3 separate regions of the Homo sapiens genome follow, and regions 2 and 3 are each linked to region 1. The links are contacts of gene promoters, found by promoter capture Hi-C in blood cells and fetal thymus (Javierre and others, 2016). All regions are on one chromosome and are shown on one strand. Each heading gives the region's core, a stretch centred on a gene start or on the middle of the fragment in contact. The rest is flanking DNA. Distances are from core to core; before and after follow the strand shown. Region 1 holds the start of GGCT (gamma-glutamylcyclotransferase). Region 2 overlaps LOC124901607 (a long non-coding RNA gene). Region 3 overlaps LOC124901607 (a long non-coding RNA gene).

Region 1 (4,956 bases), core at 1,763-4,262:
GGGCTTCTGGGTCGGGTGGGCACTTGGAGAACTTTTCTGTCTAGCTAAAGGATTGTAAACGCACCAATCAGCACTCTGTGCCTAGCTAAAGGTTTGTAAACGCACCAATCAGCACTCTGTGTATAGCTAAAGGTTTTTAAGTGCACCAATCGGGGCTCTGTGTCTAGCTAACCAGGTAGGAGGCTTAGAGAACTTTTCTGTCTAGTTAAAGGATTGTAAATGCACCAATCAGTGCTCTGTGTCTAGCTAAAGGTTTGTAAACACACCAATCAGGGCTCTGTCAAAACAGACCAATCAGCTCTCTGTGAAATGGACCAATCAGCAGGATGTGGGTGGGGCCAAATAAGGGAATAAAAGCAGGCCACCAGAGCCAGCATGGGCAACCCACTTGGGTCCCCCTCCAGGCTGTGGAAGCTTTGTTCTTTTACTCTTTGCACTAAATCTTGCTGCTGCTCACTCTTTGGGTCCGCACCGCCTTTATGAGCTGTAACACTCACCACGAAGGTCTGCAGCTTCACTCCTGAAGCCAGCGAGACCATGAACCCACAGGAAGGAACAACTCCAGACGGGAGGAACGAACAATTCTGGACGGGAGGAACGAACAACTCCGGATGGGAGGAATGAACAACTCTGGACGTGCCACCTTTATGAACTGTAACACTCACCATGAAGGTCTGCAGCTTCACTCTTGAAGTCAGCAAGACCACAAACCCACCAGAAGGAATGAACAACTCCAGATGCACCGCCTTTAAGAGCCGTAACACTCAACCGCGAGGGTCTGCAGCTTCACTCCTGAAGCCAGCGAGACCATGAACCCACAGGAAGGAACAACTCCAGACAGGAGGAACGAACAATTCTGGACGGGAGGAACAAACAACTCCGGATGGGAGGAATGAACAACTCTGGACGAGCCACCTTTATGAACTGTAACACTCACCATGAAGGTCTGCAGCTTCATTCCTGAAGTCAGCAAGACCACAAACCCACCAGAAGGAATGAACAACTCCAGATGCACCGCCTTTAAGAGCCGTAACACTCACCGCGAGGGTCTGCAGCTTCACTCCTGAAGTCAGTGAGACCACAAACCCACCAGAAGGAAGAAACTCCAGACACATCTGAACATCTGAAGGAACGAACTCCGGACACACCATCATTAAGAACTGTAACACTCACCGCGAGGGTCAGCGGCTTCATTCTTTAAGTCAGTGAAACCAAGAACCCACAATTCCGGACACACCAGCACTTTGGGAGGCCGAGGCGGGCAGATCACGAGGTCAGGAGATCAAGACCATCCTGGCCAACATGGTGAAACCCCGTCTCTACTAAAAATACAAAAAATTAGCCAGGCATGGTGGCGGGTGCCTGTAGTCCCAGCTACTCAGGAAGCTGAGGCAGGAGAATGGTGTGAACCCGGGAGGCGGAGCTTGCAGTGAGCCGACATCACACCACTGCACTTCAGCCTGGGCGACGGAGTGAGACTCTGTCTCAAAAAAATAAAAATAAAATAAATAAATTGTAACCAGCAGTAATCCTCAGGGAGTAATTTGGCATCAAGTGAATATCCTGTTCCCTATCACCTTTTCACCAAATGATATCACTGATGATCCTGGCATGAATCAATTATAAAATTCCATTATTCATTTAGGATGACTTAGTTGGCATACTTTTGTAAAGAGAACTGTTTCCTCATCAACTGATGCTCGTCATCAGCTGTATTTCAGTTACCCCGAAATACAGCTGCTACTAGAAAGGCGGAATACCTGTTTGTTTTCTTAAATTATCACTTTGCAGAGTAAAGTTGGTGTAATAGTCACCACCAATAGTGTGGCAAATGAAGTTATAGTTTTTTTTTTAATTTGGATTACTCTTTGGGGGGAATGGCTTTTTTATGTTTAAAGTTTCCAATCATTTTTCAGTTTGCAGTCATTGTTATTTTTGATTCTCAAATTGTTCTAATTTTGGCCAGTGGGCAACTTCAGGCTGGTTCCCATGTCCTTTTAGAAGGACCTCGTTCGTCTTGAGAGGCGTCCTGAGCTTCTGACACAAGATGTTCCAAGTTGTCCTCATTCACTCCTAGCTCCTGACCTGGCATCAGTCATTTCTCGAAGGATCACTTGGTACCTTTTAGTGGGGGGTGGTATTTAGAGATTAATAGCTGGGTGTCAAGGATAGACAATGTTCCTATGCCCTTATGTTCATTCAAAAGTTAACAATATAGGTTTTAAAAAATACACCCAGGATGTGTGTGTGTGTGGGAGGGGGTAACCAAAACACAATATAGGGGTTTCTACTGTGACCCTAACTTATATTATGATCCCGATTTTTAAAAAGAGGAAACGGAGACCAGAGGTGCCCAAAGTTACTTGGCTAGTAAATGGCAGCGTCGGGATTTAAGCCCAGGCATGTAACTTCCATGTAACAGGGAAGGGAGTCCCAAGCATTCAGAGGGGCCGCTCCAGCAGGCGACGGGTCCGTGGAAAGGGGTCAGATTGATGACCAGTGCTGGGGGTGCCGGAACCAGCAGAAAGGGTGAACGGACCCGTCCTGCCCGACTCCTCTAGGCCAGGAAGGCAGGACCCGGCGAGCTGCCGGATGAGGGAGCCGTTGATGGAGTCGCCTGGGCCGCTGTTTCGCCTCAGATCTGACCAGAACTTCCTAAGGCACAGAAAGTACCAAAGAACCACACACAAGCACCCCAGAGCGAAGAAACCAGTCACGCGCCACGACCTTCAGCCAGTGTCCATGGGACCCGACCCGCCTGTGAGGAGTGCCTGTCCACCCCTCAATCAGAGGAAGCCTTGAGCAAGGAGGGGCGGGACATCAGTAGGTCGTGTCCAATGAGGAGCCAGCGCCGGATTGCTTCAGGACAGACTATTTCTGAGTCTCGGCGGAAGGCGGAGGGAAGGCCGTGGGGATGGCCAATCAAAGGGGGCGACTCAGGTCGGTGGGGACCGGCAGCCAATCAGGAGAGCGCTCGCTCCTGACTCGACCGGCCCACGCTTCCCGCCAGTCCCCTAACCCTGAGGCTGCCGCGCGGCGGTCACTGCGCCGGGGTAGTGGGCCCCAGTGTTGCGCTCTCTGGCCGTTCCTTACACTCTGCTTCAGGCTCCAGTGCAGGGGCGTAGTGGGATATGGCCAACTCGGGCTGCAAGGACGTCACGGGTCCAGATGAGGAGAGTTTTCTGTACTTTGCCTACGGCAGCAACCTGCTGACAGAGAGGATCCACCTCCGAAACCCCTCGGCGGCGTTCTTCTGTGTGGCCCGCCTGCAGGTGAGTGCCCCCTCCCGCGCTACCCACGCCGGGGCCGGGATGCCCAGAAGGCGCTTCCTCGGGGGCACACGTGGCCGATCGGGCCAGGAATGCAGTTCTTCTTGATGAGGGTACTAGGACGCGGCTTCCGCCTCCTGGGCGGGTCCACCTCCTCCGCTGCGCCCACTGCCCGGCCCTGCCCGGGCCACGGTGCCCTCTCGGGCTGCCTGGAGCTTTCCCCCTCCTGGCCTTTGCACCGGCTGCTCGGTCTGCACCGATTTGGCCTCTCGTCCACTAACTTAACAGATTGCATACAGTTGGTACTTCTGGAGAGTCTTCTCTGACCCGTGTCTGGGAATTGGTTGCCTTCTGTTCTGTACATAACCTTTGTTACAGCACTTCTCACCTGGCATTGTGAAAATCCGTTTACCTGCCTTTCGCTCCTCATCTAAGAGGTCCTGAAAGCTGGGACCATGTCTTATTTGTAATAATGCTGTGTTCAGTTAGGTCAAGGGGCTGCATGAACTATAACCAGTGTTGGTAAATCATTGCTCTTCAGCCCAGTCCATTCATTCATTTAGTACATATTCTTCCGGCACTTAACACTAAGGGTATAAACATGATTGAGTAAAGTGGCTGTTTCGAGGAACTCTCAGTCTGTAGGACAGAGGTGCAATAGATTATGTTCAAAACCTTTTTGACAGCGTCGAATGAGACAAACATGATCTCTGCTAACATCGTGAGTTCTTAGTTGCAAGCAACAGAAACTGGCTGATTTAAGCAAAAAAAAAAAAAAAAAAAAAAAAAAGAATGTGTTGAAAGGCTATTGGAGAGCTCACAGAATGACCAGGAAGGCAGGAGTACAAAGCTGACAAAACGGACAAGCATAAAGGGAGGCACAGCAACTGTAATACAGTGGGCATCACACAACAGAACCAGCCCACGGAGCCTCTTCCACGCCACTGCTGAACTTGGTAAACGTGGATGCTGTATTGTCCACCACCCCCTGCCCTGGACACTGCCTGCCTCTGTACATCCCTGCAGTTCCTGAAACCCAAATGTGTCAGCCTCTCTGGAGTCCCTGCTGTCTTGGGCACTAGCTTCTAATTGAAAGCCCCAGAATGTCCCGATTGGCTAAGTTTTGGCCACGTACCCATGCCGTGATTTTAAGCAAAACTGAGAGAACCAGCTTCTGGCCTTTGAAGCCTCAAAAATGGGAGTCAGGCTCTGATACTCCCTATTCCCAAACTCGTAAGGTAGGGAATTTCCCAACTGTAGGAAGGGAGTCCAAATGCTTACAGTCAGGGCAAGGGGAAGAGATATTAAACAAGGGATTATTCAGTTACAGGTATATGGTCCATCTTAAAAAGGAGGCATGCAAAGTGCAATGGGGCGTATGACCAGGGTACCTGACCTAACCAGGATGCTCAGGAAAGCCCTGCCTGAAAATGTGACTTTTAAGTTGAGACCTGAATGATTGTAGAGGTGGGGAGCACACAAAACAGGGAACAGCATCTTCTGCAAAGGACCTGAAGAAAGAGGAAGCTGGATCTTTCAGTCAGTGTGGCTGGAGTTTAGTAAGGGGAATGTGGCATGAAGACTGGAGATATGTGGAAGGGCCACATCTTCCAGGACCACAGAAGCCAAATAAGACACACTGCAGAACTAAAGCACATGAAAGATAGATTTCTATCTCCAAAAGCCC
Region 2 (4,956 bases), core at 1,815-4,314, 280 kb after region 1:
TCCTAAAAGTGTCTGGCTGCCTTAGAGTAGGGGATGCTTATATATTGACAGAGGACAGTTTCAGCTGCAGATCTGTGTGGCAGCAGAGAGCGGAGAAGTTTGGTAGAGGTTATAATTAAAACCCAAGTGCCAGTTCTTGGAGGGATGCACACTCAGATCCTGCTCAGGAAACCGGGGGAGCGGGGCAGCTTCCTTATGACTGTTGCATGCTGATCGTCCTGCCTGAGGCTGGGTTTTGGGCTTTCCCTCCCTTTGCTGGGTGCTGTTAAAAAGGACCAGGTTCCTGCAGGCCTCTCTGTCAGCCTGGCACTGGCTTTACAGTCTCCCAGTGGTGTGATTAATGTCTGGGCTTAGGAGGAAATTTCCTCTGCAGGTTTGAGTTTATGCAGGTGAAGGGAAGGTACAGCTGATCTAAAGCATCTGTAGGCCTCCTGGGGTTCTGGGCATCCCTGGGCCTTTCTCCACCTCCTGTTGGTTGGAGGATGTAGGAGCCGACTGAGTGGAGGTCTGCGGCATGCTGGGCCCAGAGGTAGTCAAGTGTATTCCTCATGATGTGTCCTGAAATGATGTCACCCACGCTCCTGGGGGTGGGAATGAGGTAGGCAAGGCTCAAAACCGTGCTCAGGCACCCCCACTCACCCTCTCCAAGCAGAGTAGTCAAACAACAATCATACCAGAGTTTTTTATCCTTAAAATAGCTGAGGGGCTCAGTTTTTTCAGCAAAAATTGAAAAGTGAAAAACCTTGATTCAAGTGAAAGCCTACTATTGATATTAATTTAATGGATGAGATTTTTTTTGCCTTTACTGGAGTGTAATTACATACAATAAACTGCTTCCTTTTCAAGTGTATGATCTGATGACTTTTCCCAGGCATGCACACTTGTGAAATCACCAGCACAAGCAAGATACAGAACATTTCCATCATCCCCAAAAGCTTCTTCATTCCCCTTTGCAGTACTTTCCACACTCTGCCCCTGCGCCCAACACTGCTGATCTGCTTTTCGTCGCTACAGATTAATGTATATTTTCTAGAATTTATATAAATGGCATCAGAGAGTGTGGACGCCTTTGCTTCTGTCTTCATTCACTTAGCATAATGATTTTTAGGCTATCACTAGTTTATTCCTCTTTATTGCTAGTAATATTCCATTTCATGGATAACCTCATTTTGTTTATCCAATCACCCACTGACGGACATTCGAGTTGTTTCCAGTTTTTAGTTCATGCGCATAAAGCTCCTCTGAATATTTGTGCACAAGTCTTTGTGTGGGTGTGTTTTCATTTCTCTTGGGTAAATACCTAGGAATGAAATGACTAGGTCATATGGTAATATGCTTAAATTTTTTGAATATGTATTAACTTATTTTCTTTCTAAATGAACTTTATTTTTTTAGTGCGGCTTTAGGTTCACAGCAGAATTGAGCAAAAAGTACAGAGATTTCCCATTACCCTCTACCCCCACCATGCACAGCCTCCCCATTATCAACATCCCACACCAGAGTGGTACATTCGTTACAGCTGATGAACCCGCACTAACACATTACTATCTACAGTCCATAGTTAACATTAAGGTCCACTGTAGGTGTTGTGCATTCTATGGGTTTGAATAAATGTATAGTGACATATATTCACCATTATAGTATCATATAGAATAGTTTTATATTCTATATGATATAATAGTTTTACTTATTATAGTATCCTATAGAATAGTTTTACTGCACTAAATATCCTCTGTGCCTTGCATATTCATCCCTCCACCAGGCCCTGACAACCATTCATCTTTTTACTCTCTCCATCATTTTGCCTTTTCCAAACTGTCATATGCTGGGAATTATACAGTATGTAGCCCTTTAAAATTGGCATCTTTCACTTAGTAATATGCATTAAATTTCATCTATGTCTTTCTTTTAGAGACAGAGTCTTGCTCTGTCACCCAGGTTGGAGTGCATTGGCGTAATCATAGCTCACTGCAGCTTCGACCTCCTGGGCTTGAGTGATCCTCCTGCTTCAGCCTCCTGAGTAGCTAGGACTACAAGTGTGAGCCATCATGCCTGGATAATTTTTTAATGTTTTTGTAGATATGGGGTCTAGCTATGTTGCCCAGGCTCACATCCATTTCTTTTCTGGCTTGATAGTTCATTCCTTTTTAGTTCTGAATAATATTCCATTATCTGGATGTACCACAGTTTATTTATCTCCTTACCTACTGAAGGATATCTTGGTTGCTTCCAAGTTTTGGCAAATTAGGAATAAAGCTTCTGTAAATATCCATGGGCAGGTTTTCGTGTGGATGAAAGTTTTCAACTCCTTTGGGTAAATACCAAGGAGCATAACTGCTGGATCATATGATAAGAATATATTTGTTTTTGTAATAAAACCATCTTCCAAAGTGTCTACCATTTTGCATTCCTAGCAGCAATGAATGAGAGTTCTTGTTGCTCTAACTTCTTGTCAGCATTTGGTGTTATCAGCATTCTGGATTTTGGCCATTCTAATAGGTAGGTGGTGTTATCTTGTGTTAATTTGCATTTCCCTGATGACACGTGATGTGGAACATCTTTTCATATACTTATTTGCTAACTGTATGTCTTCTTCGGTGAAGTGTCCATTAAAGTCTTTGACCCATTTTTACATCAGGATGTTTGTTTTCTTATTGTTGAGTTTTAAGGGTTTTTTTTTTTTATATATTTTGAATAAAGTCCTTTATCAGATATGCCTTTGCAAATATTTTCTTCCAGTCTATGGCTTATCCTTTTATTCTCTTAGCAGTGTCTTTCACAGAGCAGAACATTTGAATTTTAATGATGTCCATTTTGTCAGTTTCTTCTTTCATGGATTGTGCCTTTAGTGTTACATCTAAAAAGTCATCACCAAACCCAAGGTCATCTAGACTTTCTCCCATGTTATCTTCTATGAGTTTTATAGTTTGCATTTTACATTTAGGTCTGTGATCTATTTTGAGTTAATTTTTGTGATGGGTTTAAGGTTTGTATCTAGATTTATATTTTTGCATGTGGATACCCAGTTGTTCCAGCACCACTTTGTTGAAAAGACTATCTTTTCTTCATTGTATTGCCTTTGCTTCTGTGTTAGAGATCAGTTAGCCACATTTATGTGGGTCTATTTCTGGGCTCTCTGTTCCGTTTTATTGAGCTATCTGTCTATTCTTTCACTAGCACCACACTTTTGTGATTACTGTAGCTTTATAATAAATCTTCCATTACATAGGGTTGGTCTTCCAACTTTGTTCTTCTTCAATGTTGACTTGCTACTTCTGGGTCTTTTGCCTCTCCATATAAACTTTAGATCAGTTTGTCAGTATCCACAAATTAACTTGCTAAGATTTCATTGACTTCACATTGACTTTATAGATAAAGTTGGGAAAGAACTGACATCTTGACAACATTGAGTCTTCCTATCCATGAACATGGAACATCTCTTTATTAAGTTCGTCCAGGATTTCTTTTATCCAAGTTTTGCATTCTTCCTCATGTAGATCTTGTGCATGATTTGTTAGATTTATACCTAAGTATTTCATTTTTGGGGTAAATAGTATTGTGTTTTAAATTTCAAATTCCACTTATTCATTGCTGGGATTTAGGAAAATGATTGACTTTTGTATACTAACCTTGTATCTTGCAACCTTGCTATCATCACTTATTAGTTCTAGGAGTTTTTTGTTAATTCTTTCAGATTTTCTACATACATAGTTATATCATTTGCAAACAATGGCAGTTTTATTTCTTCCTTCCCAATCTATATATCTTTTTTTCTTGTCTTATTGCATTAGTTAGGACTTCCAGTTAGATGTTGAAAATAATTGGTGAAAGAGAACATCCTTGCATTGTTCCTGATCTTAGCAGAAAGCTTCTAGTTTCTCAACATTAAGTGTGATGCTAGCTGTGGGTATTTTGCAAATGTTCCTTATCCAGTTAAAGAAGTTTCCCTCTATTCCTACTTTGCTGAGAGTTTTATCATGAATAGATGTTGGAATTTTTCAGGTGCTGTTTCTGCATCTATTTATACGATCATGTGATTTTCTTCTTTAGCTTTTTGGTGTAATGAATTACATTAATTGATTTTTGAATATTGGACCAGACTTGCATACCTGAGATAAATCCCACTTGGTCATGGAGTATAATTCTTTTTATACATTGTTGGATTTGATTTGCCAAATTTTTTTGAAAATTTTTGCATCTATGTTTATGAGAAGTGTTGGTCTGTAGTTTCCTTTCCTTGTAATGTCTTTGGTTTTAGTATGAGGGTAATGCTAGCCTCATATAATGAGTTAGAAAGTATTCACTCTGCCACTATTTTCTGAAATAGATTGTAGAGAACTGGTATGATTTTTTCCTTAAATTTTGGAAAAATTCACCCATGAACCTACCTGGGCTTGGCACTTTCTGTTTTGGAAAGTTATTAACTGTTACTCAATTTCTTTAATAGATATAGGCCTATTCAGATTGTCTATTTCTTCTTGTGTGAATTTTGGCAGATTTTGTCTTTCAAGGAATTCATCCATTTTATCAGCTTATGAAATTTGTGGGAAGAGTTGTTCAAAGTATTCCTTTGTTATTCTTTTAATATCCACAGGACCTGTAGTGATATCCCCTTTTATTTTTAATATTAGTAGTTTGTGTTATTTCTTTTTTTTCTTCATTAGTCTGGTTTAGACACTTATCAATTTTATTATTGATATTTTCAAAGAATCAGCTTATGGTTTGATTTTCTCTATTGATTTTGTGTTTACAATTTCATTGATGTTTGCTCTAATTTCTATCATTTCTTTTCTTTGCTTACTTTGGATTGAGTTTGCTTGTTTTTTTAAATAATTTCCTAAGGTGGAAGCTTAGATTATTGATTTTGATCTTTTTTCTCTTCTAAATATGCATTCAATGCTATACATTTCTCTCTCAGCACTTCTTTCACTGCATCTCATAAATTTTGAGAAGTTG
Region 3 (4,956 bases), core at 921-3,420, 270 kb after region 1:
GTGTGTGCTCTTCAATTTGCCATGGTTCCCACCTCTCTCCATTCCTAATACCTGCCCTACTTTGCACATTTACATTATCCATTTGGTATCTGTAGGTACTTGAGCTGCTTGCTGCCCCTGGCGGATAATTGCAGAGGGGGTTACATATGATACCGAGATGTTCCACATAGCAGGAGAGGAAGCTGCTGCTTTCCCCAGAGTCTTCTTCATTCCTGAGGGCTATACCATTGAGAGAGAGAGAGAAAGTGAGAGACAACGAGAAAGAGAGAGACAATGAGAAAGAGAGAGAGAGAGAGAGCTTATTGCCACCTCTACAGACCATAAAGCTGGTATCTTCTCTCACTTCATCATCAACTTGCTTCTCTCCTGCAGAGTGTCTGCTGCTCATAACTCCTGTCCCCACCTCTAATCACATCCAGTACCACTTACCACCACAGCTTTTTTCTCTCCAGGCCTTCTATTGCTTTTTATCATGCCTGTCTTGCTGGGTGTTCATGTGGTTGACCTTTGTGGTCACAGCCAATTACCGGGTGCTTTTCCTTCTGCCCAGCAAACCATGAATCTCGGCACAATGTGGTCTCTGGGATAGTGGCTCTGATTAGCAGCATTTGTGAGCTGGGTCATCAGGAGCTGTGCTTTACTGTCAATCAGTTCTATTTTTGTTTTCCCAAAGACTTTTGAGTCCAGAGAGATTGTAGAAGCCTGAGGGATCTAGAAAATGAGGCTAGTGCAGAGGTGTGGTTTGGCCAATAGTGAAAATAACAGCCTGTGGAAATAGTCAAAGGAGAGATGACTGTGGGCGGCAGGAGGCAAGAAAGTTTTCCTTAAGAATGAGTTAAGACAGACAAAGGATTAAAAGGAACATCCTCATTTTGGGAGGCCAAGGCGGGTGGATCACTTGAGGTCAGGAGTTTAAGACCAGCCTGGCCAACATGGTGAAATCCTGTCTCAACTAAAAATATGCAAATTAGCTGGGCATGGCAGCGCACGCCTGTAGTCCCAGCTACTCAAGAGACTGAGGCAGGAGAATGGCGTGAACTCAGGAGGTGGAGGCTGCAGTGAGCCGAGATAGCGCCACTGCACTCCAGCCTGGGCGACAGAGCGAGACTCCGTCTCAAAAAAAATAAATAAATAAAAGTAAAATTAAAAAAATAAGAATAAAAGGAATATCCAAAACTGCAGAGAAGGCAGCCCAAATGAAAGGTGAGTGATGGTGCAGGGCATGGTGTATACACACAGCAGTGTGTGTCTGTGTGTGTATGTACACATGAGCACATGTGTATGCAGAAGGATTAGCACCGGGACCTGAGCCTAATAAAGTTAGGAAGGAATAAACTATGCAGGGTCTTGAAAGCTAGATGCATAAATTTGTAATCATTGCAGTAGGCAGCTTAGAGCTACTAATGGGGAAAGAAATTTGGGCACGGGTATCTATCTAGGTGATGACATAAAAGCAAAGTAAAAATGGAGGAGAAATAATCCTAGGATATTTTGAAGGCACAATTGACAAGCCTGGATGATTGGCTCAATTTGAAAGGCTGAATGGAGGGAACAGTCAATGTTAATGCCAAAGTTTTGAGCTCAGGGGCATGTTGGCACCAACATAGAAAGGGAAGTTTGAAAGAGCTGAAAGAAGATCATGAATTCTGTTTTAGAAGTGACATTTCATTTTTCAGCAAGAGACTTTCCATCCTCATTTGTTTATTTGGCTATGTGGTTACCAGAACAGATTTGCATCTGGAGTGCAATGGGGGAAGCCTGGGGAACAAGAACAGACTTCTCTCTCACCCACATTTCTGGCTTTCTTAGCCAACAATACAAGACCAGAAACCTCCACTAGATATTAAATGGCTTCTTGGTCTTGCAGTGAAGCCTCTGGCTAGAATGAGACACATGGAAACCTGTGAGTCAAAGAGAAGATCTCAGAAACCCATTATTTGCTGTGACTTCAGAGCAGTACTCACATTCTTTTGCTGACAAGTATGTACCAACCAAATTTGGCACTGTCAGCACACTGGCAGGGAGCCAAGATGGTAAATAGAAACTGATCCATCACAGAAAAAAAAAAAAAGAGGAGAGCAAATGATCATTCCACCCTACATTTCTTGGGCAAATAAGGAGGCAAATGATCATTCCACCCCATAGAGCTCATGCCCACCTCTGAGATAATAGACCATATCCCTGTTCTCTGTAACTCAGGCAACTTTAAATACAGCATCCCCAAATGACATCAGGTTGTAAGGCCCTGGTAAAGGCAATTGTTTGAGGCTGCACAGACTCTGCTGGAACTTTGGGAATCTTTCTGCATTCCAAGCACCTAAATGGGGGCTTTCTTGATAGGTAGTCCCTGGGTTAACCTCACTTTGATTTTCATAACACAATCATGCACTTGAGTTTCAATCTGGCTGTGGATTTTAGAGCACAGATTAACAGATGCCTATAGAGTCTATATAATTTTGAACGCTAGCATGTAACCCTCACAATCACTCTCACTAGAATCAATTCATTTAGGGACATTTGGCTTTTCTCTTCCAGGCATTCTGGAAGTCCTAAGTGGGTCCACTTGCCATGTAGCATAGTGAGCAGTTGTTCAGCATGTAGGTTTTGTGCAAGCAGAGCTATGCTAAAGTAACAGCTTTCCTTCTACGAGCTTCTTTGACCTGGGGAAAAATTATCAGTTTCTTTATCAGTAAAACAGGGAAATAATACCTAGTTTCAAGTGGTATTGTGATTAATAAATTATATAAAGAGGCTGTATTCATTATGTTTTGCTGCCTAACAAATTACCCCAAAATGTAGTGGCCTAAAGAACAATAAAAATTAATTATCTCATAGTTTCTGAGGGTCAGGAATTGAGGAATGGTTTAGCTGGGTGGTACTGGTTCAGGGTCTTATAAGGTTCATGGATGTCAGCCAGGGCTGCAGTCATCCAAAGGCTAGACTGGGGCAGGAGGATCTTCTTGTAAGGCTGTTCACTCACATGGCTGATATGTGGTGCTGGTTCTTGGCAGGAGACCTCAGTTCCTCTCCACAGGATTGATGGAGTGTCCTCAAAGTGACAACTCGCTTCTCCCAGAGTGACCCACCAAGAGACCAAAGCAGAAACTGCAATGCATTTTAGGACTTGGCCTCAGAAGTCACAATCACCACTTCCATTGTATTCTATTTGTTAAAGAGGTCAGCCCTGATTCAATATGGGAGGGGACTACGCAAAGGCATGAATATCAGGAAACAAGTATCATTGGGGGTTTTCTTGGATGCTGGCAACCATAGGGCTTGCACAGTTCCTAGCTAAATGGTAGCTAATAATATGAATAATATTATTATCTGCTTTTTATCAAATAAAAACCGTTTATTTTCCTCTGTTCTAAAATGACCCAATCATTGCTTTTCTGCTCTCAGATCTACTGGCCTGTCAGTCCCCTAGTGATGTCAGAAAGGGCAGCACCCCATGACCTCACAAGTGTGAGTCAAATAACTTGTATTCTGAAACTTTGGCCTCTTCTATTTCTTTATATATGTAATGAGAATACCTAACTCCAACTTCCTGATTTCTCTGATGATTTGAATGCTGCTGTCAGCCAGCATGTGCAGGACATAAGCAATCACTGCTGCAGGAAAGATGCTGACTTGCAGTTCATGGCCTGGCTCTGCTAGGCAGAGAGTAGTGACCCAGGTCACCCCTGTGACACCATGGGGACCATGTCAGAAACGGAAATGTGCCATTATGGGGCAACTAAAGAAGCCTGTCATCTCTCAGGCAGTGTTTGTTGGCACTGGTCCCAAACACCTGGTTAATTGTAAGTCACTGTCATGGTAACCTTCCCTACATCATCAGAGTAGATGCTACATGCTTAATGAAACTCATATTGGCTAGTGATGGGATGGCTGAGGACAGGTCAATGGCAGAGGCTGCCAGTTGTTTCCCAACGTCAGTTCTACCCTTCTTCCATAGGGAGAGATTCCTAAACATTAGCTGGGAACAAGGCACCCCATAATAAAATCTATGCCTTTCAGGCTTTTTTGACAAAGTTCTGGCCAATGGGACATAAGTGGAGGTGGTACATGAAACTTCTGAAGAGGGAGGCATGCCTTCATTCTCCTCTTCCTCCTTCTTGATGGCTGGAATGTTCATGTAATGACTAGTGCTCAGAGCTCCAGGTGCCATTTTGAACCATGAGGTGACCTTGGGAATGGAAGCCACTTGTGGCAGAGCAAAAAGAAGAAACCTGGGTCCCTGACACCATGGAGCTCCATTCCAATCATGGGTTGCCTGCTTCTAGATTTCTGGAACATTAGAAAGAAATAGCTTTTCAATTCTTTTAAGCCATTCTTACTTGTTTTCTTTCTGTTGCTTTATGACCAACATAATCCCAACTACATAACGTCCTATGACAATGGCTATTATCCCAGTTCTAGCACATGATCTGTCACCAGGGCATGCATGTATCAAACGCAGGAAAGTCTGTAGAAATGATTCCAGGAGAGAGAAGAGAAACCATCATTTATAGTTTTATGAAACATTTATTGAGCTGTCCCTACTATGGGCAAGGCACCGTGAGGGATTCAAAAGTGAATGGGTCTCATCCCATGAAGCTTAACTATCAAATTGACATGAAGGAGGTCAGACAGTTGTGTACGGAGTTTGTTGAGTGTTTCTCCTCCATTTGGGCTTCCTGTTACTGCCACTTTGTTCTTTGTGAAGAACTTCTACATGTCAGGCACTGTGCTAGGTGCCGGAATCACAATGATATACTAAAGCAGATGTAGTATTAAATACATCTCCTTGTGCAGTTAACAGTATAGGATGATGTCATATGCTATAGGTATACTTTGGGTTCCTGTGTCTTTAAAAAAGTAAAATTCCAATGGAACAGAACAGAGCCCTCAGAAAAAATGCCACATATCTACAACCATCTGATCTTTGACAAACCTGACAAAAACAAGAAATGGGGA

Evidence for each region. The method cuts DNA at HindIII sites, captures the fragments that hold promoters and counts their contacts. A CHiCAGO score of 5 or more calls a contact.
Region 2: a contact is called between a fragment that was not itself captured here and the fragment with the promoter of GGCT in region 1, in 1 of 17 cell types (naive B cells). The highest score is 5.1, in naive B cells.
Region 3: a fragment that was not itself captured here is called in contact with the fragment with the promoter of GGCT in region 1 in 7 of 17 cell types (total B cells, non-activated CD4 T cells, activated CD4 T cells and 4 more); the score reaches 6.7 in total B cells.

The regions. Positions count from the first base shown.
Region 1 is chr7:30,502,885-30,507,840 of GRCh38, reverse strand. It overlaps GGCT (gamma-glutamylcyclotransferase), which reads left to right and starts at 3,012. Exons shown (of 4, transcript NM_024051.4): 1 at 3,012-3,272. The coding sequence starts at 3,132. RefSeq lists enhancers at 2,537-2,626, 2,046-2,924, 3,067-3,276, 2,925-3,804 and a silencer at 3,427-3,606. The HindIII fragment of the contact is 6,754 bases long and covers 417-4,956 here.
Region 2 is chr7:30,218,266-30,223,221 of GRCh38, reverse strand. All of the region lies in intron 1 of LOC124901607 (a long non-coding RNA gene), which reads right to left. Among named protein-coding and RNA genes, the nearest start is that of ZNRF2, 64 kb to the left of the region's middle. The HindIII fragment of the contact is 1,612 bases long and covers 2,259-3,870 here.
Region 3 is chr7:30,236,146-30,241,101 of GRCh38, reverse strand. The region is part of intron 2 of LOC124901607 (a long non-coding RNA gene); the gene reads right to left. Among named protein-coding and RNA genes, the nearest start is that of ZNRF2, 46 kb to the left of the region's middle. The HindIII fragment of the contact is 4,856 bases long and covers 1-4,598 here.